7 separate regions of the Homo sapiens genome follow, and all the other regions are linked to region 4. Evidence: promoter capture Hi-C in 16 types of primary human blood cells and fetal thymus (Javierre and others, 2016). All regions are on one chromosome and are shown on one strand. The core of a region is centred on a gene start or on the middle of the fragment in contact, and the rest is flanking DNA. Distances in the headings are between cores, read along the strand shown.

Region 1 (3,649 bases), core at 556-3,055, 1.2 Mb before region 4:
ATGAGAAGTCATTTTCACTTCTCTTAGCAAAAGGACAAGGCAGGAACTTTCCTTCCTGAAACCCAAGGCTTTAAGTCTTCCAGAAAAATATAAAGACACATCTGTTTTCCTAGCTTTTAGAGAAGAGGAGTTGGATTATTCAAGAGAGGAAAAGGTGTGCCTCAACACTGAGAGGAGGAGCTTAAACTCAAGTCTTGGGAGCCATGGTGGTTTTTCTTTGCTGAGATATACAGCAGGGATTGGAGGCTGTGAGCAACAGACCACCATGCCTTAGAATGCACAACATGGACTTGGACAAAGATGATCTCAGCATCAAAAATGATGGACTAAAGACCAGAGCCCCTTGCTTCATTTTCTTAGGAGAGTATGTCTCCTAAAACCTTCTGTAGGGATCTCTATGTCATATATTACACATTTCATCATAGAGAGACAAAAATTTTTACTTGATAAAAAAAAATAAAGTAATTGGATACTTTTTATGAGAAATTGTAAAGGAGCAAATGCATAGCATTGCAAAATGAGCAAGCTTAGTTCTTTGTGTGAATGTAGTTTTCCAGAACTTGTGTGTATGCTATTAGTAAGTAGAGTTTGTAAGTCATTTTACTAGCCTGTGTTCTAACTCTTCTCAACTATTTCCAAGAAGTGAGACATTTTAAATCTCTTTGAATTTATTTAGATTTTAGTTGTCTTCTAAACAGCAGCAATATGTGTGTGTGTGGGGGGGTCAATTTCAATTTTTTTTTTTTTCTAACTGTATTGTAGTGATTTAAGGAAGCACCTTCAATGCATATGAATAATGAAGTTCTAAAAAGCACTGTTATTGCTGCACAAAGGGAAACATTGAGGACTAGAAGAATTAGGGAATTGGGATAGACTCTGGCTGCATCTAATGATGTGGAGAACTGGTGCTGTTCCTTGATGATCAACTTAGTATAAATAAAAGCCTTGCTCAGATTTGATGATGATGCTACTTTCTATTCCTTTTTCCTCAGGCCCCTCATTGGAGACTTTCCGTAGTTCAACTGCAGAATTTATTCTTTATTTTATTAATGGGAAAGGAATAGTTTTTAGGCCTGTAATTTCTAATGTGATTCATTATAGGACTAGGAAGATTGGGCTTCATGAAGACTGGTCTGGCATTGATCAATTCTTAACCATCAAAGAGACTTGATTCTCCAGGTATATCTGAGTGCCATTCTGAAGTGTAAACCACAGACAGTCTCCTTGGGATGTATGAAACCATCACAAGGACAGAGGTGAAAACTGAGAAATAATTCATTCAGCCAACAAATATGTATTCACAAACTACTTATTCAGAATGATGTGGCTGCTAAGGACATGATAGTGAATAATATAACGCAGATCCTATATCCATTGGGCTATGTTTTAGTTGCTTTTGTGGGGAGAAACAGTAAACACGTAAAATTTTATAGATACGTTTTATGAGAGTGAGTTGACAGATGTATTAGTCAGGGTTCTCTAGCGGGACAGAACTAATAGCATATATGTCTATTAGTATGCTATTGGTATATATGACATATATATGGAGAATTGACTCGCACTATCACAAGGTGAATTCCCATGATCAGCCTTTTGCAAGTTGAGGAGCAAGGAAGCCAGTAGTAGCTCAGTCCCAAACCTCAAAAGTAGGGAAGCCAACAGTGCAGCCTTCAGTCTGTGACCAAAGGCCCCAAGAGCCCCTGGCAAACCACTGGTGTAAGTCCAAGAGTCCAAAAGCCAAAGAACTTGGAGTCTGACATTTGGGGCAAGAAACATCCAGCACGGTAGAAAGATGGAGGCCAATTGGATTGTGCCCACCCACATTGTTAGTGGGTCTTCCTGAGGGTGAATCTTCCTCTCCCAGTCAACTGACTCAAATGTCAGTCTCTTCTGGCAACACCCAGAAACACCCATATAGACCCTGAAACAATACTTTGTGTCCTTCAATCCAATCAAATTGACACAATATTATTTTAATATTAGTGAAAGTGAGATGTATTGGGTAGAGATCAGATAAGGAAGCTCACCTAGCCTTGACTTTGCTAAATAGCTGTGTGATCTGAAGAACTTAGCTTAGCTTGGATGAATATTTCTTATCTATAAAATGAGAGAGCTTGGCAACATGATCTGTACAGGTACTTCTCTTCTAAGACCATGTAAGTCCAATCTTAAACAAATTAAGTTAATATATGTAAATCTCTTAGAACAAAGTTTGGAGGAATGTAAGCGCTTTCAGAGTTTCAGTTATGATATGAAAATGATTATAATTTTCCTTTTAATCTGTATTCCTTTCCCTGTCTTGCATAGTTTTAATGTAAAGTAGACCATTCTTCCTGAAACTCCCAAAGATGTTATCTGTGAGATAATAACAGAAATATAATTAGCTCTTATTAAGTATGTTGAAATTAGCCAAGGACTTTTAGAAAATCATTGAAAGGATTTTTTTTTAAATAAGGGTTAATTCTTTCTCAATGATACCTGTAAGTGTATAAATGATCAGATTTTAGGTGGGTTAAAAATTTCTCATTTCATTGTTGCATATTTTGTGTCTAGTATAATGTGCAGTAGGTCAAATGTTAATAAACTAAGTTTTGATATCTCAAATATAACTGTGCTATGTATAGTAATATAACGTTTATTGAATGACTATTATTCTGGGGGAAGATCCTTTGTCCTGTGTTTAGCCTTTTGTGATTTTAACACAATTTTAGCACATTTTAAATGAACAATTTTCTTTTTTTCTTTTTTTTTGAGACAGAGTCTCGCTCTGTTGCCAAGGTTGGAGTGCAGTGGCGTGATCTCGGCTCACTGTAAGCTCTGCCTCCCGGGTTCACGCCATTCTCCTGCCTCAGCCTCCTGAGTAGCTGGGACTACAGGCGCCCACCACCATGCCCGGCTAATTTTTTGTATTTTTCGTAGAGACTGGATGTCACCGTGTTAGCCAGGGTGGTCTCGATCTCCTGACCTCATGATCCACCCACCTCGGCCTCCCAAAGTGATATTTTTAACAATAATAAATAATAATAGAATAATAGTACAAATCTACCATAGATTTAGTGTTAAATATGTACCAGAATAGTACTAAGAAGCTTACTCACATTATCTCATTAATCCTGGAAGTTGTTATTGTGTTAGTTTTACAGACTCTGAGATGATTTACTAATTAAAAACCTGACCAAGGTAGCAGAGCTGGGAAAGAGAAAGACCAAGCTCCTGGGAATAATTAATGCGCTGCACTGTGCCTCTATTCTGATGACCAGAATAAAACTGTCTTGTTTAGGTGAAATAGCCTTTCAAAGCACTGTTTTATTAAAAATGCAAATATTTAAATTTCTACATCTGTATTCATAAATTAGATACTTCTCTAATTTTTAATAAGCTTTTTATTTTAGCATAGTTTTAAATTCTAGTTTTAGATGGAGAAGTTAACAAAAATTATACAGAGATTTCTCATACACCCAACACTGTTTCCCCTATTGTTAACACCTTACATTATTATTATGGTACATTAGTCACAGCTAATAAACCAATATAAACACATTATGATTAACTAAAACCCATACTTAATTTATATCTCGTTAATTTTAACCTAATGTCCTTTTAATATTTCCGTTCTAAGATCCGATTCACATACCAAATGACATTTAGT
Region 2 (3,639 bases), core at 954-3,453, 1.1 Mb before region 4:
GCATTGAGAAATGCAGTGCATTGTATGTTGCTAGGATGCAGCAATTATTAAAGTAATTACTAAAGTGGTATCTACATAAAGTAAATTTGGATGATGTTTAAAACTCAAATGCACACTTTGTGATATTGTGTATAATACAGCTTGTTTGTAGACAGACTACTCCTTTGCTAATGATATTGAAAAAGAACCTTCTTTACTTTGTTTTGCCTTTAGAAATAGATAAGTCCTTCTAGTTGAAAACTAGTTATCATTTTATCTTGTGAATAGTTTAACAGGATAATTATTAATAGTAGGAAGAAGAAAATTGTGACTTTTAATATGTAAAAGATATTTAATATATGTATACAAATTAGTTCATGGTATCCCAGTCCTAAAACAAAAAATCCAACTAGCCTCTAATGGCTTTGTGGTTGTACATAGTCATTTATTATGACTGCTGAATTCACTTTCACATTTTGAATCACTTTAAACACCTTCCTCAAATATTTTTGCTAATGTCATTTCCCTTATAGGAATTTTGTTTTTCCCTGTCCTATCATGTTACCCTATACTAAATTAAACCCTAGGCTATTATGGGAAAAAATAATTCTCCATTCTATTTAGAGAACAGACCCAGATACGTCTTACATCATATTTACATATCAGATAAATTTATTATTATTTCACATATATAGATCCAAGAGAAGTTCCTGGAGGTCCTTTGCTTTTCAAAATAAACAGTGCTTTATGGGTGTGAAGGAAAAACTAATTAATATAGTCTTCTAGCAACTTCTTAGAGAAGTGGAGTTATCCTTCTTTTGAAAAATAGTGCCCTGCCTTTTAATGAATGAAATGAGAATAAAAGCATGGCAAGAGACAACGATGGTTCACAATAATAGAGGAGAAATTTGGAAATAGTAAATGTGGTAGACTAAACATGGCTACAAATTGCTTGCTGCTCTTCCCATCAAGAAGTAAAGTCTAATTGCCCCTTCCTTGAATCTTAGCTGGCTTTAATGAGTTCTTTGACTGATAGAATATAGCAATAATAATGTTCTGGAACTTCTGTGGCTATGTTAGAAAAAGCCTTGAAGCTTCCACCTTGGTCTTGGAAGTTCTCTCTGGGAGTCTGGACCTGCATGTAAGAAGTCCAAGTACCCTGAGACCAACCACTTAAGGAGGTCATGTTAAGGTGCCCTGGTTAATATTCTTAGCTGAGTTTGGTGTTTGAGCCATCACCATCAAGATGCTAGTCATATGAGTAAAGACATCTTGTTCCCTCCAGACCATACCTAAACAAGTTGAAAACTACAAAGGGATACTCATAAACAACACAGGAATCACTCAGCTAACTCCTGCTCAAAGTTCTAATGCACACGAATTCTAAGGTAAAATAGTTATTGCTTTAAGCCACTGGGTTGTAGGATCTTTTCTTATGCAGCGACAGATACCTAGAATAGACTACCAGAAACCAGAGTTGGTCTTGAACAGGGTAGGTCTCTTTGTGTGACTGACACCTCAACCTTTTTTCTTTTGACCTTCCATCTTCTGGGTGTTGTCTGGCATTGTTTCCAACAATTGGGAAATACTAGTATCTAGATATAATAATTTGAATGGCAGATAAAAGGTAGGAGCTAGAATGGCTTGTTAAGCACTATTACATAATAATGTTATCATTTGATATTCTATTTATTTTAAGTTCTGGTCTCCTTATGCCCTTAACAGTTCTTTTGAAAGCCAAAGCCATTGCTCTGCCCCTCGAGTGGGTGGATGAGTCTGCTTGACTGTCAGACTTCATGGATAAACTGGCTGAAACCACATAATGTTCGCTCACTCATTACCTTTCTCCTTGTTAAGCCTTTCTGATGGGTGTGCACTGAATTCAGAAAACTGCTAAAATCATGTTAGACACAGAGAAGATGCAACCAACTTTGGATGATGTACAGAAAAGAGTTAACATAGCAGGCCTGGCCGGGCGTGGTGGCTCATGCCTGTAATCCCAGCACTTTGGGAGGCTGAGGCGGGTGGATCGCAAGGTCAGGAGATCAAGACCATCCTGGCTAACACAGTGAAACCCCCCTCTACTAAAAGTACAAAAAATTAGCTGGGCATGGTGGCAGGCGCCTGTAGTCCCAGTTACTTGGGAGGCTGAGGCAGGAGAATGGTGTGAACCTGGGAGGTGGAGCTTGCAGTGAGCCAAGATTGCGCCACTGCACTCCAGCCTGGGTGACAGAGCGAGACTCCGTCTCAAAAAAAAAAAAAAGAAAAAAACAAAACAACAACAAAAAAAACATAGCAGGCCTGAGATTGCTATCATTAGAAAGTAGGGTTGACTGTTGGCTGATTTTAGGATTGTATATTTTTGGGACAATTCCTACCGTTCTGTAATTGATAAGAGGGGTTCTCCATGCCTAAATAGTTTTTTACAAACATGTGATTTGTGTCAAACACCTACTTTTCTTCTGCAAGTCTGGGATTTTGGTATGTGCTAAGAAGTGGATGTCTATGTGATCAGCCCCCAATAAAAACTTTGGACACTGAGTCTCTAATAGCTTCCCTAATCAGCAATATTTCATATGGGTTGTCACAATTTGATGATGGAGGAATTAAGCATGTCCTGTCTGACTCCATTGGGAGAGAACTATTGGAAACTTGTGCCTGGTCTCCTCCAGACTTGGCCCCATGTGCCTTTTTCCTTTGTTGATAATACTTTGCATCTTTTCACTGTAATCAGTCATAGCCATAAGTATGACTACATGCTAAGTCCTGAGTCCTTTGGGTCCTCCTGGTGACTCATGGACGTGTGGTGGTTTCAGAGACCCCAGACAGGGATAGCAAGTGAGCCAAAGGAGAATTACACACACACACACACACACACACACACACACACACACACCCCACAGAGGCATGCATGCATGCACACACACCACAGGCACATGCACACATGCACACACCAGTGTTCCAATTGAGACTTTCCTACTAAAAAATTTTTAAATTTTTAATGAAAGAGGATTTGGATTTTCATTAAATAATACTGGTAACATGAATGTTATAATTATTTATATGCTTGCTTAACGTCACTACCTCCACCTCCTGTCTGCTTCTCCTCAGTCCACTTCAGTGAGGCTTGTTCCCAGTCACTCTGACAAAACGGCTCTCTCTCAGCTCCACTTTGCCAATTGTCACTTTTTTCTTTCATCTTACTTGTTCCTTCAGCTGCATTTCCCACAGTTGAGCTCTCTCCTTGAAACACTTTCTTCTCTTGGCTTTTGAAATACCAATATTTCCTGATTTTTATCTGACCTTTATATCCACTCCTTTTCACTGTCCTTTGGTAATTTTGCCGCGTATTTCCAAGCTTCAGATATTGGAACGACTTGGTTATGAGCTGCCTTCTGTTTTTTATTTAAATGCTCTTCCCAGTTTCATTTCTAGTGTCTTGGCTTTAAATATCATACATAAAATGATAATCCTCAAATTTACTCTCCAGAATTGTAACCTCCCTTGAGCTCCAGATTCTTACATGAAACCACTTAGTCAGGATCTCTGCTTAGAAGCATAAAGCCCTTTCAAACGTAGAATGTTTAAATCACAACTCCTGATTCTTTGTACCAATCCTTCTGTCCCTGTCCGAACCTTCTCCTCCCCACCCCTTTCTGT
Region 3 (3,618 bases), core at 437-2,936, 1.6 Mb before region 4:
CAAGAGCTGCTTCATGGAGGGAGCATGTTGGAGAAGGTGAAGCATGGTGGAGCCACAGACAAGCAGAGGGGGCTGTGCAGGAGAGGTCTGCAACCTCACTGTCCTGCCCCAATACTCAAGGAATAGCTCAGGGAAGAGGGAGGAAAGGGAAAGCATGTGATAAAGACTACACCCCTGGCTAGGGAAAGGGAAAGGAAGTTTTGAATGAGATACAACATGCAATCTAAATGAAACAAAGAGACTAAGAAAACATGGAATAGGGCTCAGGTGTTGTTAGGGAGGATTTGATCTGGGATTATTGGGGACAGTTATTGGAAGAAAATAAAATTTGTATTTATAGCTGAATGAATTGAGACTCTTTAATACCACCTCCCTGATTATAGTCCACTGTTCTTTCTGCCATATGGTGCTTTACCGCTGACGTTCTCTAAATGTCTTCACTCTCATAACCTCATCCTGTTCATAGCATCTTGAATATTTGATCCTACACCTCAATTTTACAAACTCTTGGAATTTGTGTCAAATCTTGCCTCTTCCCAGAAGTCTTCCTTAATAACCCCAGGTCCACATTCCTCCCTGTCTTTCCCCCATTGCCCTCCACCATTTCAGCATTTTCTAGAATCCATCCTTGCTTTTCATTCCAATCTTCCACGCCCTAGTTCAGGATCCCATCCAATCCTCCTTCTGCATGGTTGCCACACACTGCCTGAGGACAACTGGCTGAGGCCCTGCTGCATTTGGCAAGCCACCTGCTCTGAAACAGGGTGGTGTCAACCCAGAGGGGCACCATTTTCTCAATTGCCCAAGGGCTGTCTTAGTTCACCAGGTGTGCATGGGGTCCTGTAGGCTCAGAGGGAGTGTCTTTTCCTAAGTTGCACGAAGGTGACACTGTATTTCCTAACCACCTCGATCCCACCCCAGTCTCTTCTCATTTCAAGTTGTCCTATACATAGCTGACATTAATTTTTTTTTAAACTCAAGCAAATCTCCTTTTCTACGTAAAAGCCACACTCTAGGGCATCATCAATATCATGTGTATTGGGAACTGTCGAAGGGCTAGGATGAAACAGCCTGGATGTGGACTGTGAAGAGAAATAAAAAGCTTCCTAGCACCACGAATCTCAAACCTTCATGTGCACACAAATCACTATTGGATCTCATTAAAATGAAGATTCTGATTCAGAAGGTCTGAGTGAGACCTGAGATTCTGAATTTCTAGCAAGTGCCCAGGTGATGCTGAAGATGTTAGTCCAAGGACAACACTGTAAGTAGCAGTAAGTAACATTTAATTTAATACACTGTGAGTAGCATTTAATTTTCACAAAAATCCCTATAGGGTTATTATTATTATTATTGTTATTATTGCAATTTTTTAGAGACAAGTTCTTGCTCTCTTACCCAGGCTGCAATACAGTGGTATGATCCTGGGCTCAAGCTATCTGCCCTCCTGAGTAATTGGGACTATGAGTGGGCACCACCATGCCACCATGCCTGGCTAATTTTTTTATTTTTAATTTTTTGTAAAGATGGGGTCTCCCCGTGTTGCCCAGGATGGTCTTGAACTCCTGGGTTCAAGCAATTCATCTGCCTTGACCTCTCGAAGTGCTGGGATTATGGGAATAGGGATTTAAATTCATGTCTGCCTGATTGAAGACTCCTTTTTAGCCACTATGGTGTATTCCCTCTAGAAGGACTGGAGAGGAGAGAATGGACTTGAGGGAAGAATTTCATTCAGGAAGTAAAACAAGAAAACTTGGGGATGGGTTGGCCTTGATCTTCTCAGTGGAGTTGGTGAGAAGGTCACTTAGCTCTGGTGGTGGGAATGAAAGGCCTAAGTGATCTGGGGGAATTGGGGCTAGCTGCAGAGGGCCATGTGCTGGAGGAAGAGCAAAAAGGGCTGCCAGTAGAAGGGAGCGCCCAGATAAAGCTGGGAGGATTGAACTTGCCAAAGCACTAAATCAGTGGTTTCCAAACTTCACAGTAGAATCACTTGGGGATCTTTTAAAAGTTCAGGTTATTCCCCAGGCCAATTAAGTCACAATCTCAGGCAAGGACACAAACATCAATAATTTTTGAAGCTACCCAGTAATTCCAAAGTACAGATTATTTTGGGAACCAGTGCTGCAGATGATTAGGTTATAGTGTTAAAGGGGCAAATCTTGCATTATTTTAAATAACCCAAGGAGCATTGAATAATGGTTTTGGCATTTTGCATAGTTCGGAGTTTGGCAAACTTTTTCTGTATTAAGTCAAATGGAAAAAAAAAAAATTAAGCTTTGTGGGCCAAGAGGCAAAATTGAGAGTATCATGTAAGTACTTACATAATAGGAGAAGAAAACAGATTTCCACAAAATTTTTATTGATGAAATTTGAAACTTTATGAATACTGAACTTGGAATTTTATATAATTTTATGTGTTATAAAATGTTAGAATTCTTTTGATTTTTGCAGTCATTTAAAAATGTAAAAATAATTCTCAGCTTTCAGGCCGTACAAAAACAGGCAGTGGCTGGGTTTGGCCCCCACTATGTTATAATTTGCTGACTCCTAGTGTAGTTAGTGATATACCTTGTGATGAATCCAAAGAAGCCATCAAAAATATGCATCTCCATAAAAATAAATCAGCATTCAAATGAGTGCTTGATTGACCTACAACAAAACTGGCCTTTGAAAAAAATCATTGCATTTTCTATGGACAAAGTGCAAAATGAATGACAACACTTTGAGGCAAAGGCTACTTTAACTCATATTTCCATAATAAATAAAAAAATAGCTGGTTGAAAACATGGATGACCTACACAGAGTCTACTATATAGAGTACTGTTTTCTGTAAATAACTCAAAATACTTTCAAAATATCTTTTAAAAGTATAAATAGTATTTTGATTTATTTTGAAACCATTTTGGTGTTTCACCAGATGTCAGTTCTCCTCAAGGCCTCAAATTATTAAAGATTCCTAGCTGTTGAGTACAGCTCCCTTGCGTTTGTAATGTCTACATTTGGATACCAGGATTATAGGTTAAAAAAATGGCAATTTTCTGGAAATGTTGTTTATGTAATCAGGTGGATAATCTGAAATACTTTAGAGAGGCTATAGAAATCCCTCTACTGTCTTTGGGCATTTTACATCCAGAACCTTCTGAATTATTGCATTAATAACTTCAATAGTTTCTGATTAGCAAAAAGCACAGTGAGGAAAACAAAATTAAAGAGAAAAAGGAATTTTAGCACCTGCAGGTCTAAATATTGTATTTGTAATTTATTTACTAATGGATAGTTGTTTTTTTTTTCTCTTATGTATAGAAAATTTCGAATGGAACCAGAGGTTACCAGAAACGTGCCCCATTTGTAGTTTCTCTGCTTTGAGAATTTGCCAGGCGTTGAGGGGAGCCCTCTGCTGTTAGTTTTATTTATTACAGTAAAATTTGAATTACATTTGTTTTATGCCCTTCCTTGAACCTTCTCAGGTTTTTGATGTTTCTGTTATGATTGTACATTTTACATAACAAAGAAAACATAAATTCCACGATGCCAGTTGGCATAGTTAATAATCCATCAATTCTGCCCTTTTTGAACTATATCAGAGCATTGAAAAATCTGGCGGTTTCCAATTTCCAT
Region 4 (3,570 bases), core at 954-3,453:
TCCCACTTGTGCCCTTCTCGGCCTTCCTGTCCACTGGCCAGGCCCCAGCATCATGCACCCATTCTCCTCAAGGCCTTCAGGCTCCTGTTGCCACAGCTACACCAGTGTCAATCCCTGAATCCTGCTCTGCTGCCTTACTGCTGGTATTGCTGTGGTCACACTATTACTCTGGACTTATCATTGCGATTTGTCACTGACACACGGATATCATGTCCCAGGGAACTTCTTTTTTTATAAACTCATTATAAACCCATAAATTTACATTTAATTGATGTGCTTTAACTTATTGCAGTTATTATTTCCGATATTCAAATGGGAATCCCTGAAAATTGGCTCTTGACTCTTTGTGACACAACCATGGTAGTCTTCAACAGTATACTTGTTTTCAGGTAGGACCACGTGTTAAAGGTGCATCTTGCACATCTTTCACTAAGACCTGCAGCTCGGTATTTCTCTAAGGAGCCCCGACTCGTAGGGGAGCATTATCTGTGTGTTAGGGATGATCATTGCTAACAGGTTGTTCTTTGTTTCTAGGCCTTTTCAGGGAACAAAGCTAGGAGATTAGGGGTAGGTTAATGAATGGATCTGTAGATAGATAGATAGATAGATAGATAGATAGATAGATAGATAGATAGATAGATAATGTAGATAAAACATCATATTTATAATTGAATGTTTCCAATTCAAAGTCTGATTCAGGACTATAGGGCTTTTATTTGACCCCACTTAAATTTACATCTCTTTTCAACCTAAATTTCTGGTTCCCAACAACACCTACATATTACTCACTTGTTTTATACTGGGAAACATATACAATAGTCTCAGAATAATAATAGGAAAACTTTCCATGACGATGTAATTACTGGAAACATTTGAAGTTTGTGTCTGTGTGTGTGTGTGTGTGTGTGTTTTTGCAGTTCCTTTTGTTCTAAGGGTATATCCCACTTGAGGTCTACAGTCAATTCCCAGGTTTTAATGTCACTTGAAATACTTTCTCCCAAGAGGATGTGCCACCAACTCAATATCTAGTTAGGTTTGACTTTTTTCATTTTGTTTTGAGTTTTAACGATTATATCTTAATATTTATCAACTATATATTTTGGAAATCTTTTCATACTTGCATGTAGAGATATTCTTCTTCTTTTTTTTACAGCTGTGTACTACTGCATTGTGTGAATGTACCATAGTTGAGGGTCCCCTATTGATGGACATTTGAGTTTTTTCTAATACACAAATTGTGCTGTGATAGGTGGCCTTGTGAATACATCTTTCCATTTCTGTCAGTGCATCTTTGGGATAAATTAGAAACTGTAATGCTAAATCAAAAGTAGCCAGTAGAATGTCTTTTTGCTTGAATAATCATAATATTTATCCTGTGCTCTAAGGGTGAAATGATGCCACCTCTTCCCCAAGTGCAGGGAATGAAGAGATGAGCCTTTGGCCCCTGATATGTCAACAATTATCTCTCCTAGAAGACCAACTGAGCTCTCTTACCAGTAGACTTTCTGGAAGAACATCCAAACATGTCCTGATAGAAACAAAGCCAGATCTTGTCTCAGAAGAAAAAAAAAAAAATAGGGGCAAAAATATTCTACACAGATCACAAAAGTTTTCTTAGGAAACCATGCTCCCCCTGGACAGCTCCCCAGGAAGGTAACCCTTGGCGTTGATCTTGCGATTGGAAGGGTGTTCATTTTTTAATTATGCTGACAGACATTCAGTGAGAACTGTACTTCCCGAGGGCTAGTGAGCAGGGGGAGGTTTTCCCTGTTGTGCTCAGGCAGGACGTTCCAGGGATCTGGGGAGGCCCTGACATAACTGCACGTTCACACGGCTGCCCCTCCCTCCTCCTCCCTCTGTCTTCTCCAAAACAAATGACCTCGCTGGGATCCTGTTTGCCTTTTACTGACTTCCTGGACCAAAGCAGTGTGCCTGTGAGTGCAACAGCTGATCCCTTTCGGAGTGGAGTTTCCTAGCTGGTGCCTGTCCTCTCTTGAGCCTTTGTTTCTTGAGTGAGCACTCACTGGGGCTGTGGCTCCATGAACTGGATTTCAGGAAACCAGCCAAGGCATTCTCTCTCTCTCTCCATTCCTAGAAAGGCAGAAAGCCTGGGAATGGGTTCGGCAGGAAGATCTCTGTACCTCAATCTCCATTGCTTTCAGCACCACTGGCTTTCTCCCCAGCTCAAGTGCAAAACCTGCCATCGTTGCTACCTGGGGTGCCTCAGACTCACCCAAGTCCCCCAGGCCAGAGGACATGCTCTCAAGCCTTGTTTCAGAAAGAGGGACCCAAAGGCTGTTAGGGAAGAGAACCAGGGTCCTCAAACCCAGGGTTTTCTCACCCACTGCCTCTGCTCTGGCTGTGGCCTGCCAGACCTCTCCTCTGATTTTCGCTTTCCTTCCTGCCAGTGCCTTTGTTTATCCGAGGCGCCAAGATCCCACTGTGAAGTCTGAAAGGAAGACCAGTGGTTCTCGCTTTTCCTCTAGATGCTGTGTCTCCCAATGTCATCTTCTTTCCTCTCAAAGACAATTGGACGTTGTTACAGATTTTCTTGGAATGAGGTGAGTGGACGTTGTTTTTCCCTAGGAATGTTCTCCTGTGCTTCAGAGACATATTTAGAAGGGCATAAGAACAAGAGGAATTAGTGTGGGTCCCTGCCACTGGCACCCCTCCAAGCTTGGCTTTACCCCTTCATGTCAACACCATTTCCTCCCAGGCTTTTCACAGCTTTACAGCCCATCTCAAGTCTTTAACTGCTAAGTGAGCTTTAAAGAAAAGAAAAATCTTCAAAGGCTCCACCAAAGGAAAGAACGGGGCACCTCACATTCGGCCTAAGACAGGAGTGAAAAGACAGGAGATTTGACATTCGCATGGCTGTTCTCTATCCCACCCACTTACAACTTTATACTTATCCTCCCGAAGTCTCAATCCAGCTTCAATTTTATCTGAAAAGGGTCATTTGGGATACAAAAAGCTGCTCCTCCAATGCCACCAAACAACTGCTGGTGCCCTCTATTAACCATCTGAGAAAGCCTAAACATCTCTCCAGCACAAGTAGACCAGGAATTCCCAGCCCCCATCCCATATAAAATCCAAACGATGACAGTAATTGAATGACACAGTGTATTCAATAACCCCACCGTACCTTCCTTCTCACTTCCAGGGGTGATCACATTGACATCTCACCTCATCCGTGGGCTGCCCACAGCCTGGCTATGTCCAGGACTTCTGGTCTCTCTCTCTCTCTCTCTCTAAAAGATAGGGTCTCGTTATGTTGCCCAGGATAGATGTGAACTCCTGGGCTCAAGCGACCCTCTCCTCTCAGCCTCCCAAGGAGTTGTGACTACAGTCTCACACCACCATGCCCAGCTAAGCTCACTGCACATGTCAATGTCTTATCTCCCGGCCCTTCCCTTCTTCCGTTTGTCCTCCCCTCCCCTGTTCTCACTATTCACCTTTCCTTCAGTTGCCCACCTACTTCCATGTTCGGAGGCCAGTGCTCTTTGGATCTGACATGTTGTGTGTGGGTCCCAATGGTTCATAGAAGGCCAGAGGGTCAGACACTTCTGC
Region 5 (3,770 bases), core at 1,073-3,572, 1.4 Mb before region 4:
ACAATTGTGAAGGTGCTTACTATTAAAATTATATTTCACTATGGGTAGTGATTGAGAATATAGGTTGGGGCATCAGAATTCAGGGGTTTGAATCCCAGCTCCATTACGTAGTAGTAGTATAAATTTCAAATTAATTAATCTCTAGGTACTTCAGTTTTCTCATCTGTAAAATGGAGAAAACAGTGCTTTCTACCTTTCAGTGTGGTTGTGAATATTGAATGAATGAATGTACGTAACGTGCTTGGAAAAGTGCCAGGTTCCATAAATGTTTGTGAGAATTATGAAAATTATTTGGATGGTTACAGCTGTTATGTATGGAATAATATTAGAATGAAATACAATACTGTAAATTCTATCTCTAGGTGAGATACTAAATGTAAAGCCAACTATTTGTCAGCTATGCAGAAGCTTAGACAAATTATTGGTCAAGAAAGAAGCAAGTAGATGCAATGTTTGAATGTTTGACATTGCCCCAGGAGGGCACGTGAGTAGACACAATTAGAAGGTCAGGGAAACCTGTTAATGAGACATTTTTAGGAGATTTGAACTCCTGGCAAGCTAAGTCCCTATTAGCTAAAGATAGAGTGTATCTGAGAAATAATGTGATGTAGAAGAAATGACTTTCTATTCAGCATATAGGCCCAAGAAAAGTTTAAATTTTATTTCTTGAAAATGTTAGTTTTCACATGTGAATCCATTATAAACCATTGCAGTGCAGCATGAAGAGGGGAGAATGTAGTTAAGATTAGCATTAGAAACCTAGTATTCCAACAGAGCAAGGCCTGCAGGAATGGGAGAAGAGTTTCAAACAATGTAAGTTATTACCTATAGAATGATATGTTGTGGAAAAATTGGACTTTGTATCATAAAATCTAGTTGGTCTGATGCAGTGTAGCTCAATGTACACAACTTCTACCCTGTAAATTTGCGATTAAGCCCAGCTGTGGTATCTTGGACTCACCAAATTTTATATTTTCCAATTTTGTTCATTCTATGAACTCAGAACTTCTCTAAGAAACTCTGAAATGAAGCATTAGGCTATGAAATTAATATAATGAAGACTTGATTTTGACAAAGTATAAGATTATATCATTGCAACTGAATAGATTTCTGACTTTATTTCTTAATTTCAGACTATCATCCTCATCTATTTTTCAAAGATAGTTGAGACTAATCATGACTGTCTTCATCAGGGTCCAACCAGGAAACAGGAATTGCTAAATATTACAAACAGAGGAAAGAATCTCAAGACATCACTCTACTTCTAGGGGCAGAGGGACACAGAGAGAAGGTGGTATTAGCAGAACCCAGGACTAAGGATTTTCTCTTGTAATAAACGACACAGGACCATCAAGGTAGGTGGTATCTGGCAGGGAGCTAGAATCATGTAAAATGGTGCTTGATGAATGGAAAAAAGATGGAGAAACACTCTATTTCTCTTCCCCTTCTACCCTTAGTCTTCCACCATTGTCTCTGGTGGCCAAACATGGCAGAAAGCCAGTTAGTGAGGGAACCTGGAAAACTTAGTTTGCAGGTAAAGGGCAGGAACAGATCTGTGTGCAAACAGGCAATGACCACCATAATGCCTCTGTCCATGCCTAAAACAGAGATGGAAACCGAGTCTCTGCTCTGGAACAGGCAGTGTTCAGGAGAAGCTTTTCCATCTAGATGCTATTTCTTTAATTTTTCAGAGCAAGTCTGTGAAGTTGTTATTATTATTTCAATTTTGTAGATGAGGAGACAGAATCTTGAAGGAGTTCTGGTCTCTGTTTAAAGTTTCAGAGCCAGAAAGGAACAGAGGCCACCTGGTTCTACACATACTCATTTTTCTTTTTTCTGTGTCTGTTCAACACTTGAAAGCTTGCTTGATATTATGCTGAGACTGTAGAGTTTAAAACTCTGGAGCTAAAAGAGACAACAGAATTCATCCAATCTGACTTTAAAGATGCAGAAACTGAGGACTGGAAAGCTTTGCTTAACACATATCTTGACCAGAATAGGAACTATAACTTAAAGTTTCCGTAAGACACTGAGTAATTACATCAATATTTAACATGAATGGCATCTGTCTTCTTGTTCTCTACTCAGTCATTGAGGATCTCAGTGGGGAATGGGATGAAGAGCTCAGGTGGAAGGGATTTGCCTTGAAGAGGAGGATGCCTGTCGTGCATGTTCTACTCTATTTTTTTATGAAGTACGGATCTATGCTATCCACAGGGTTGAGAGGGAAGGAAGACATTAGGAGCATGCTATAAGTTTGGACTGTCTGCTGAGAGAATGGAAAGTGAATGTGCCTAGGAATGAATACAATGAAGTGAATACATAGTGGAGCATTGAAGACTCACCTGGGCGTGAATGGAAGCAATGTGAGATGGTACTAATCAGCAAGACTATTTTTTTTTCAGTAGTGCTCATGGTTCTGGAGAAGAAATAGAAAAGTGAGTCCTTAAACTGATCCCACATTGTAGAAGGGTCTGGCAAGCGAGGCCTACTGGTTAGAGAGCAAGCAAACCGAGAGCTTTCATAACACAGGCAAGAGGGAATCGATGGATCCTGGGAAGGATAGTATCACAGGATAAAGGAAGGACTCCATGAAGTTTAAATTTAGAGTTAATGAGAGAAAAATATTGGAAGGAATGAATGGACAGAAAGTTCTGATCAGAAAATGTGATTTCTAAGCTTGAGCTTTCAGGACCATGTGGTTCAATACAATAGCCACTGGTCACATATGGCTACTCCAAACTGGGATGAGCTGTAAGTGTAAAATATAGCCCAGATTTTGAAAACTTAGAATGAAAAAAAGAATGCAAAATGTGTTACTATTTTAAATATTTATTCCATATTGAAATGATAATATATGGGATATATTGGGCTAAATAAAATGTTATTAAAATTAATTTCACCTGCTGCTTTTTAAAATGTGGCTACTGGAAAAGTTAAAATTATACATGAGGCTTGCATTACACTTATATTGGATAGCACTGTTTTAGCAGTTGTATAGTTACAAATCAAAACAGAGCTTTTCAAAATGTGATCTTCAATCATTTAATTGATATTTAGGGCATAAACGACCAATATTTTAAAATAGCTAGAAAAATTATCATGGTATAAAAATTAAAGAGTAAACAACATTTTAATATGTGTTAATGAAAGTGATCATGGCTTAATTTAAGAGGAAGAAATTTTCCTAGTTTTTCACTGAATTCATGATACAAAACTCATTTGCAGATAGATTAATACATTGATTAGGAAACACATTCAATAGTTTTCTATTCTTAGTCTTTATATATTTGTATTAAATTAGTCATGAGTTGGCAATATGGAAATAATTAGTTGGTGACTGTCAAATAGTGCTGAATAATCAGCTTGTCCCGAAACTCAGGGAGATTTCTGTTTAAAACCACTTCCAGTGTTGTTGACAAACATTTCCCACTCAAAGTAGAAGTCAAAAGATAAATGCAAATGGATTTCTAATCCATTTTTTAGTCGCAATTATCTCTAGAAATTTTATTGCCTTTTTATAGAATTTGAATGTGGTTTTAAAATAAAACTCTTACATAGAGTGTCAAAAGATCTTTGGCAAGGGTGCCAATAGGGAGAGGTTAGTCTCTTCAATAAAAGTGCTGGAAAACCTGGATAATACATGTGTAAAAGAATAAAGCTGAACCATTATTTTATACCATATACAACAATTAAAATGGATTAAAGATCTAAACACAAGACCTGAAACTATGCAACTCCTGGAAGAAAACATAGTGGAAAAACTTCAT
Region 6 (3,680 bases), core at 177-2,676, 1.6 Mb before region 4:
TACAAAGAAATACTGAGTGGAGACTATACTGAGATTCTGTTAAAGACCCACTTGAATTCAGCCCCCATTAGGAGAAACTTTGGCCGGAGCAGCCAACACATCACCTGGAAGTCTTCAGACTAGGTAAGCTGCACTGTCTGAAAAGAAAGTTTCCACTGTCCTATTTCTGTCTTGTGATTATCTAGAGTTTGAAGAGTTTCGAAATCATTTTTATCACCATGACTACATTACTGTGATTCTCTAGCAATTTAGTGTCACTTTCATACACAAACTGCAGAAATATTATTTTTTTGTTATTCTTAATTTCTTAGTTAATAAATTTATTATTATTTATTAAATAATATAATTCATTTATGTATGCCAATAACTTATTTATTAATTTATATTATTTAATCTTGGATTTAGACTATTGAAGAGTGGATTGTGTACTGAGGGCTCCCAAGTGCTTCCAGAAGCCAATAAAGGATCACTTCAGTTTACTTCACGGCTAAGGAGTAACCCTTAAGAACCATGGCCAAACGCCTGCAAGCAGAGTTGTCCTGTCCAGTTTGCCTGGATTTTTTCTCCTGTTCCATTTCTCTCTCTTGTACACACGTGTTCTGCTTTGATTGCATCCAGAGGTATATACTAGAAAACCATGATTTTAGAGCGATGTGCCCCTTGTGTCGAGACGTGGTGAAGGTACCTGCTTTGGAAGAATGGCAAGTGAGCGTCCTAACACTTATGACCAAGCAGCACAATAGCCGACTTGAGCAAAGTCTGCACGTGAGGGAGGAGCTCCGGCATTTTCGGGAGGATGTGACCCTGGATGCAGCCACTGCCAGCTCCCTCCTTGTCTTCTCCAATGATCTAAGAAGCGCTCAGTGTAAGAAGATCCACCACGATCTGACAAAAGATCCCAGGCTGGCCTGTGTCCTGGGTACTCCCTGCTTCTCCTCCGGCCAACATTACTGGGAGGTTGAAGTGGGAGAGGTGAAGTCATGGTCCCTGGGCGTCTGCAAGGAGCCGGCTGACAGAAAGAGCAATGATTTATTCCCTGAGCATGGCTTCTGGATCAGCATGAAGGCAGGAGCAATCCATGCTAACACCCACCTGGAGAGAATTCCTGCAAGCCCTCGCCTTCGCCGTGTGGGAATTTTCCTGGATGCTGACTTAGAAGAAATCCAGTTTTTTGATGTTGACAATAATGTCCTCATCTATACACATGATGGTTTCTTCTCTTTGGAGCTTTTGTGTCCATTCTTCTGTCTTGAGCTCTTGGGAGAAGGGGAGAGTGGCAACGTCCTGACCATCTGCCCATGAGAAAGTCAGCCCTTCCTAGAAGCTTTCTGAGAGGTGAAAGAGAATTTTGGCCTGAGAAAGGTCAGCATGATTGAGGAAGAGATAATGTGCTATAGTGCAAAGACTTGGTAAATTTTTAAAGTAGATTTTGTAGACTTTGTAGCAAAACAATTTTCGGATTTTTGGGGTAAATTTTGTGGAATTTGTAGCTAGGTAACTGGGGTCTTTAGGGATGTTATTAAGTACTGTAAGCTTCAGTTTTCTAGTCTGTAGATGCGGATAATTGTATCTCAGTCAAACAGCTGTGGTAATTAGAGACAATACTATGCCTTTGTCTTATAGTAAATAACAAATAGAGAAATCTTAGATTGTAAGTAAGCTAGATATTAGGTTTTGTGGATAGACAATATCTTTTTCATTATTTCAAGCTGTTTTGTGTAATTCCTGATAATGTCTGAGGAGGAAGAAAAATTCAACAGCCAGTGTGAGTTATTTTGTTGATACAGCATGAAATTTCAGAGAGACAAACTGATATTGGGGAAGAACTAAGTTTTTCATTTTTATTTTCTTTGAAACACAGCCACATAAGTTTTCTTGAAAGACAAAGAACTTTGACCAAAATGCATTGTTAATGGTGATTCATATTCTTATGGGAAGTGTCATTTACCCATCTCAATAATTGGACTATTGTGATTTATAAGAATTCTTATCAACCATGTTAACTAACACATATTCATCAAAAATTGTTTTCAAGGTTGCTTTTGGATTTTTTATTTGTAGAATTTATTTTCTTGCAAATAAATTTATAAAGCATTGGATGTGTTCATGTTTATGCTGTTTGGTCCGTCTCTCACATACAGTCTGAAGTTGGTACCCCTCTTCCTCCACCACAGCTACATGGTCCCAGACTGTGATTTCCAATATGTCATCCTTATACACTCATGATGGCTCCTTTTCAAAATATTCAGGTCTCTTAGGGTTGTATTTTTTCTGATTTACTGAGTCAGCCACTTCTGAGATTACAACTGCCCCAAAAGGGCTGGGGTCTGAGCATGTTCTGGAATCTGCCTTTGACTTCCTTTCTAGAGAGACCCAGAATTGTCATTTCCCTTCTCTTTCCAACTTCACTGGGAGTAGGGAGATAGCCATTTTCCTCTCTTTATTCTCTTTTGATCTCTACAACTTTATTTCAGGGGACTCATTGCCCTTCCCTAACACTGGGCAAAATTTCAGGATACAAAATAAATGTACAAAAATCACTAGCATTCTTATATGCCAACAGGAGTCAAGCTGACAGCCAAATCAGGAATGAACTCCCATTCACAATTGCCACAAAAAGAATAAAATACCTAGGAATGTAGCTAACTAAGGGAGGTGAAAGATCTCTACAAGAACTATAAACCACTGTTCAAAGAAATCAGAGATGACACAAACAAATGGAGAAACATTCCATGGTCATTAAAAGGAAGAATCGATATTGTTAAAATGGCCATACTGTCCAAAGCAATTTATAGATTCAATGCTATTCCTATTAAACTACCATTGAGACTCCTCACAGGACTAGACAAAACTATTTTGAAATTCATATGGAACCAAAAAAGAACCTGAATAGCCAAGGCTATTTTTTAGCCAAAGCTAAGCAAAAGGAACAAAGCTGGAGACATCACAAGGCTACAGTAGTATAGTTTGTATCAATACCAAAACAGCATGGTATTGGTACAAAAACAGACATATAGACCAATGGAACAGATTAGAAAACCCAGAAACAAGACCACATACCCACAACTATTTGATCTTTGACAAACCTGACAAAAGCAAGCAATGGAGAAAGGATTCCTTTTTCAATAAATAGTGCTGGGATAACCGGCTAGCCATATGCAGAAGATTGAAACCAGACCCATTCCTTACACCACATACAAAAATCAACTCAAGATAGATGAAAGATTTAAATGTAAAACCCCAAACCATAAAAACCCTGGAAGACAACCTAGGCAACACCATTCAGGACATAGGCATGGGCAAAGAGTTCATGACAAAGATGGCAATTGCAGCAAAAGCAAAAATGGACAAATGGGATCAAATTAAACTAAAGAACTTCTGCACAGCAAAAGAAACTATCAACAGATTGAACAGGCAACCTAAAGAATGACAGCAAAATTTTGCAAACTATGCATGTGACAAAGGTCTAATATCCAGCATCTATAAGGAACTTAAGTGTACAAGAAAAAAACCAAACAACCTCATTAAAAAGTGGCAAAGGACACTAACAGAAGTTTTTCTAAAGAACACATGTGGCCAACAAGCATATGAAAATAAGCTCAACATCAATGATTATTAGAGAAATGCAAATCAAAACCGCAATGACATACCATCTCACACCAGTCAGAATGGCTATAACT
Region 7 (4,077 bases), core at 515-3,014, 1.2 Mb before region 4:
ATGAAACAATACATGACTCTATATGAATATACTAGGTTTGGTGGAAAATTTTGCTTTATAGGAGGTATTATTTAGGGTCTTTTCTAAACTGTTTTTCAGAAGACACTCCACAAAATTTATAAATAAAATAGAATGGTTTTCTCTCTTACCTAATAGTCCAGGGTGGCAGGTAGACGTTTCTCCACAAGGCCATCTAGGGACTCAAATGTGTGATGCATTTCTGCCGCTACTGCCACAAATGCTGTGAAGCTTCCATCTCTGGGTCTAGAGAATTTATTCCAGTAAATTTCTTTACAGGATGAAAGATATCTCACCAGCACAAGGGAGGTGGGAAGAGAACATGGAAGTCAAGCACCTTTTTAAAAGATTTGAAATGGAAGCTGTGCACATGACTGTGGATCATACCTCTCATTCACGGCCACATACAGCTGCAAGTCTCTACGCTTATGGCCATACAGCTCAGCCAAAAGGGGTGTATGTGGGAAGTTCTGTTAATAAAAAGAGGAAGGGGAGAATAAATAATAGTAGGGGACAATAACATTCAATTTAATATATACATTGAATCAAGGAATACTTCACCACAATAACCACTAAAAGATACACACACACGCACACATACCCACACACACTACTCCTATCGATGTCTATCTATATAAGATATATATATATTATATCATATATATAATATATATCTTAGCTGAAAGTAAAGGGAAATATCCTAAAGCACTGCTCAGTTCTGTGAATACCCTAAGCACTTTTTATAGACATAGAGAGGATCTCAGAAGACTAAGACTAGCATGATGTTTAAAAGGCAAACCAAATATATGGAACTAGAATAAAAACTTATTTTGAAAAGACACAGCTAAATATTCTCGTGTAAACTTTTTGAGGCTGTTTTAGTGAGGGTTACTGTTTGTATACAGCAAACTCTAACTGCACCTAGCACATGAAAACTAATTAGACTTATTAAAAGACTCTCCAGGGCTTGTAGACGTAACAGCACCTTGGACTACAGGTTTGAAAATAGGCATACGTTAAGAAGACAGTTTCAGATTGAGATATAAGAAATACAGCAACCATCTTCACCAGGAGAAACATGGCTAGCTAGGATGATGTCTCCACTGTTGTGGGACTATTACAAATGAATTACAACTTTCACTTTGTCTTTGGCTTATTCTCTCCAGATATAAAGTCTTAGGTGGGAGTATATGATTAGCTAAGACTTCATCACATGTCCTGTACTCTGGTTGCCTCTGTAACAAAAGTGGGGCAATTTCTCTTGCCAACACTACACATAATGGAGACTCCCCCAAAACTCAGAAGGGAGGTAAGATGCAAATTAAACAATTTTTAAGTCTACTACAGATCCTGGCAAAGGCTTTCTAGTTTGATTTTATAGCCAGTGGTGATCTGCCTCCAAATCCTATCTATCTTGAATTATGGCTTATGCAGGTTTAATAAGTCACCTCTTACTAGTTTAATTCAGGAGCCTCTTCTCTTGTCTTGGACATTTTTGGTAATTAAGCCTACTCTTTCTACTTGAAACAACCATACTCATGTTTCAGGACTTTATCTCCCTCTGATTCTGCCTTCTCTGGTTGTTCTCTATCAGACTTTCATTTATTTCTCTATTTTCAAAAAACTGATTTTCTCTAGAAATTCAGTCTTTGCTTCTTTTTTCTTCTGAATTTCATACTATGAGCAACACCATTCACTTTTTACTTTCCACATTTAACACATATATAAATAAATTCCAAATCAACATACTTCCTGCTTGGCCTCTCTCCTCGTAAGATACAGATTGGAATTAAATGCTTACACCAAGAACTTCACATGCCCATAACCAAACTAAATATGTTCTCACAAATTGTTTTTTTCCTCTTAATCTCTATCTTTATGAAAAAACACTATTTTTAATTGATGCAAACAGTTATTGAATCTTCTCTTTCTCTTCCTCAATCTCATAACCCCCATGAACATCCTTTTGGTTGTCAAGATCTATTAATTCTACGCTTAAGTCTTGCTTCTTTCTCTCTGCTCTTTTCTACCCTTACCCTCCCTGTCTTAGCTTAGGCCCTACATATTGTGTCTTTTAATGAACTGATGATGGCCTATGGGTCAGTTATGTCATACCATATTTGTCTCCTTGGTGTTTAGTGCTTGGGATATAGTATCATTATCGAATTGAAACATTTTAAAATTCCATTGTAAAGGAGAAACGGTCTTGTATATATGACTAAATATATGTGCATCTGTGCCTACATTCACTATAATCATTATGACTTAGATAAGATGTAAAATAGATTTAATGACTAAAATATATGAACAATATATGGCAATTTATATGTGAATTACTGTTTGAAGTATATGTGAAAATATCAGTGGGACATTTTAAAATCTTCTGTACACACTCATGTGTTCAATATTGAGCCAGTATATGAATGAGTCAGAGTAGCTGTGGCTTCTTGAGCTGGTTGCTCAGCTATTCCTGTGCTTTCCTTCTTTTACGTTTCTTTGTTCCACTTTATTTTACCCCAGTTTTAAACTCTTGATAATTAAGTATGCAATACAGAGTTCAAAATCTAAGTTACATTTTCTGTGGATATTTTAAATTAATAATGGGAATGGAAATGTATCACTCAATACACCTCTAATTTCAGTATTTTATTTTTTTAAAGTTAGCATTTGCAACTATTAAATCACTGTTAGTTCATTAAGATTAACCTTTCCAAAAACAATTAGCTCATTTCATATTAGTCCATTTTTATACTGCTATGAAGAAATAACTGAGACTGGGTAATGTATGAAGAAAAAGAGGTTTAATGGACTCACAGTTCCACATGGCTGGGGAGGCCTCACAATCATGACAGAAGGCAAAGGAGGAGCAAAGGCACGTCTTACATGGTGGCAGGCAAGAGAGTGTGTGCAGGGGAACTACCCTTTATAAAACCATCAGATCTCATGAGCTGTATTCACTATCATTAGAATAGCATGAGGAAAACCCGCCCCCATGATTAAATTAACTCCCATGTGGTCTCTCCCATGACATGTGGGGATTATGGGAGCTACAATTCAAGATGAGATTTGGGTGGGACATAGCCAAACTGTATCAGAGTGCAATGACAATTTTTGTACAGTAAGCTGGATAGAGGTTACCTGGGGCTTGGTAAAAAAAAAAAAAAAAAGCCATGGTTTATTTATATTAAATAATTTTAATAAAGTAACATACACATAATTAGGAAGGTATTACACACTAAATTTATATGCAATTTTTTAAATTAAAGCTTTCCGTCAGTTTTCATTCATGATCACAGCTTTCTCTTTTTAAATAATGGATGTTATATCTGAAGTGACTACATACAATTCCTAATCAGGACTTTCATTTTGCTTTCTTAAAATTGTAAAAGACCGTGATTGATAAGCCATACGGTTCAGGCCAGGAGGTGATAAATAATGTAAAATCATTTATTAAAGCATTAAACATTTTACAATTGGGATTACACTTAAAGAATATAAAACTCTCCATTTTTTATTGATAAAAGTAATGTTGAAATTTTTCAAAACACAAATGGATTTCAAATTCAATAGTACCTTTAAAAAATTTAAAATACTTTATTTCCAGCTTCATTGAGATACAACTAAAGTACAATAAACCACATATCTATGAAGTATACAACCTGATAAGGTTTTTATATATGTATACACCAATAAAACTATCACTACTATTAAGAAAATGGACATATCAATGACCGTAAGTCCTATTTATACATCTTTATGACCCATCTCTCTTTCCTCCATGTCTTCAGGCAACCACTAATTTACTTTCTGTTTCTACAGATTAGGTTTCATTGTCTAAAATAAAATCATACAGTTTTCTCTCACTCAGCATAATTAGAGATTGATTCTTCTTGTTTAATCTGTTAATCATTTATTACTTTTATTGCTGAGTAGCATTCTATAGCAGGAGTATATTTTCTTTATACATTCACCTGTCAATGTACATATAGATTATTTCTAGGTTTTTGCATACCACATATAAAATTGTTATAAACATTCATTTACATATCTTTGTGTAAA

The links. Contacts are between HindIII fragments. The CHiCAGO score rates a contact against its expected background, and 5 or more counts as called.
Region 1: a fragment that was not itself captured here is called in contact with the fragment with the promoter of LINC02880 in region 4 in 9 of 17 cell types (neutrophils, M1 macrophages, fetal thymus and 6 more); the score reaches 9.5 in neutrophils.
Region 2: a fragment that was not itself captured here is called in contact with the fragment with the promoter of LINC02880 in region 4 in 11 of 17 cell types (naive B cells, M2 macrophages, total B cells and 8 more); the score reaches 19.7 in naive B cells.
Region 3: a fragment that was not itself captured here is called in contact with the fragment with the promoter of LINC02880 in region 4 in 7 of 17 cell types (total B cells, megakaryocytes, naive B cells and 4 more); the score reaches 10.0 in total B cells.
Region 5: a contact is called between a fragment that was not itself captured here and the fragment with the promoter of LINC02880 in region 4, in 2 of 17 cell types (erythroblasts and megakaryocytes). The highest score is 5.8, in erythroblasts.
Region 6: a fragment that was not itself captured here is called in contact with the fragment with the promoter of LINC02880 in region 4 in 1 of 17 cell types (total B cells); the score reaches 5.1 in total B cells.
Region 7: a contact is called between a fragment that was not itself captured here and the fragment with the promoter of LINC02880 in region 4, in 5 of 17 cell types (neutrophils, megakaryocytes, fetal thymus and 2 more). The highest score is 9.6, in neutrophils.

The regions. Positions count from the first base shown.
Region 1 is chr6:112,748,480-112,752,128 of GRCh38, forward strand. All of the region lies in intron 5 of LOC105377949 (a long non-coding RNA gene), which reads left to right. All of the region lies in intron 2 of LOC107986634 (a long non-coding RNA gene), which reads right to left. Among named protein-coding and RNA genes, the nearest start is that of RFPL4B, 400 kb to the left of the region's middle. The HindIII fragment of the contact is 2,563 bases long and covers 525-3,087 here.
Region 2 is chr6:112,765,174-112,768,812 of GRCh38, forward strand. All of the region lies in intron 5 of LOC105377949 (a long non-coding RNA gene), which reads left to right. All of the region lies in intron 2 of LOC107986634 (a long non-coding RNA gene), which reads right to left. Among named protein-coding and RNA genes, the nearest start is that of RFPL4B, 420 kb to the left of the region's middle. The HindIII fragment of the contact is 2,264 bases long and covers 1,072-3,335 here.
Region 3 is chr6:112,308,760-112,312,377 of GRCh38, forward strand. No RefSeq gene overlaps it. Among named protein-coding and RNA genes, the nearest start is that of RFPL4B, 37 kb to the right of the region's middle. The HindIII fragment of the contact is 1,172 bases long and covers 1,101-2,272 here.
Region 4 is chr6:113,902,184-113,905,753 of GRCh38, forward strand. LINC02880 (long intergenic non-protein coding RNA 2880) reads left to right here and starts at 2,204. Exons shown (of 4, transcript NR_027060.1): 1 at 2,204-2,561. The HindIII fragment of the contact is 3,143 bases long and covers 1-2,674 here.
Region 5 is chr6:112,493,003-112,496,772 of GRCh38, forward strand. No RefSeq gene overlaps it. Among named protein-coding and RNA genes, the nearest start is that of RFPL4B, 150 kb to the left of the region's middle. The HindIII fragment of the contact is 710 bases long and covers 1,968-2,677 here.
Region 6 is chr6:112,349,199-112,352,878 of GRCh38, forward strand. It overlaps RFPL4B (ret finger protein like 4B), which reads left to right. Exons shown (of 3, transcript NM_001013734.3): 2 at 1-123; 3 at 406-2,096. The coding sequence starts at 511. The coding sequence ends at 1,302. Among named protein-coding and RNA genes, the nearest start is that of RFPL4B, 3.7 kb to the left of the region's middle. The HindIII fragment of the contact is 209 bases long and covers 1,323-1,531 here.
Region 7 is chr6:112,731,448-112,735,524 of GRCh38, forward strand. All of the region lies in intron 2 of LOC105377949 (a long non-coding RNA gene), which reads left to right. LOC107986634 (a long non-coding RNA gene) reads right to left here. Exons shown (of 6, transcript XR_001744303.1): 3 at 406-488; 4 at 150-264. Among named protein-coding and RNA genes, the nearest start is that of RFPL4B, 390 kb to the left of the region's middle. The HindIII fragment of the contact is 3,035 bases long and covers 248-3,282 here.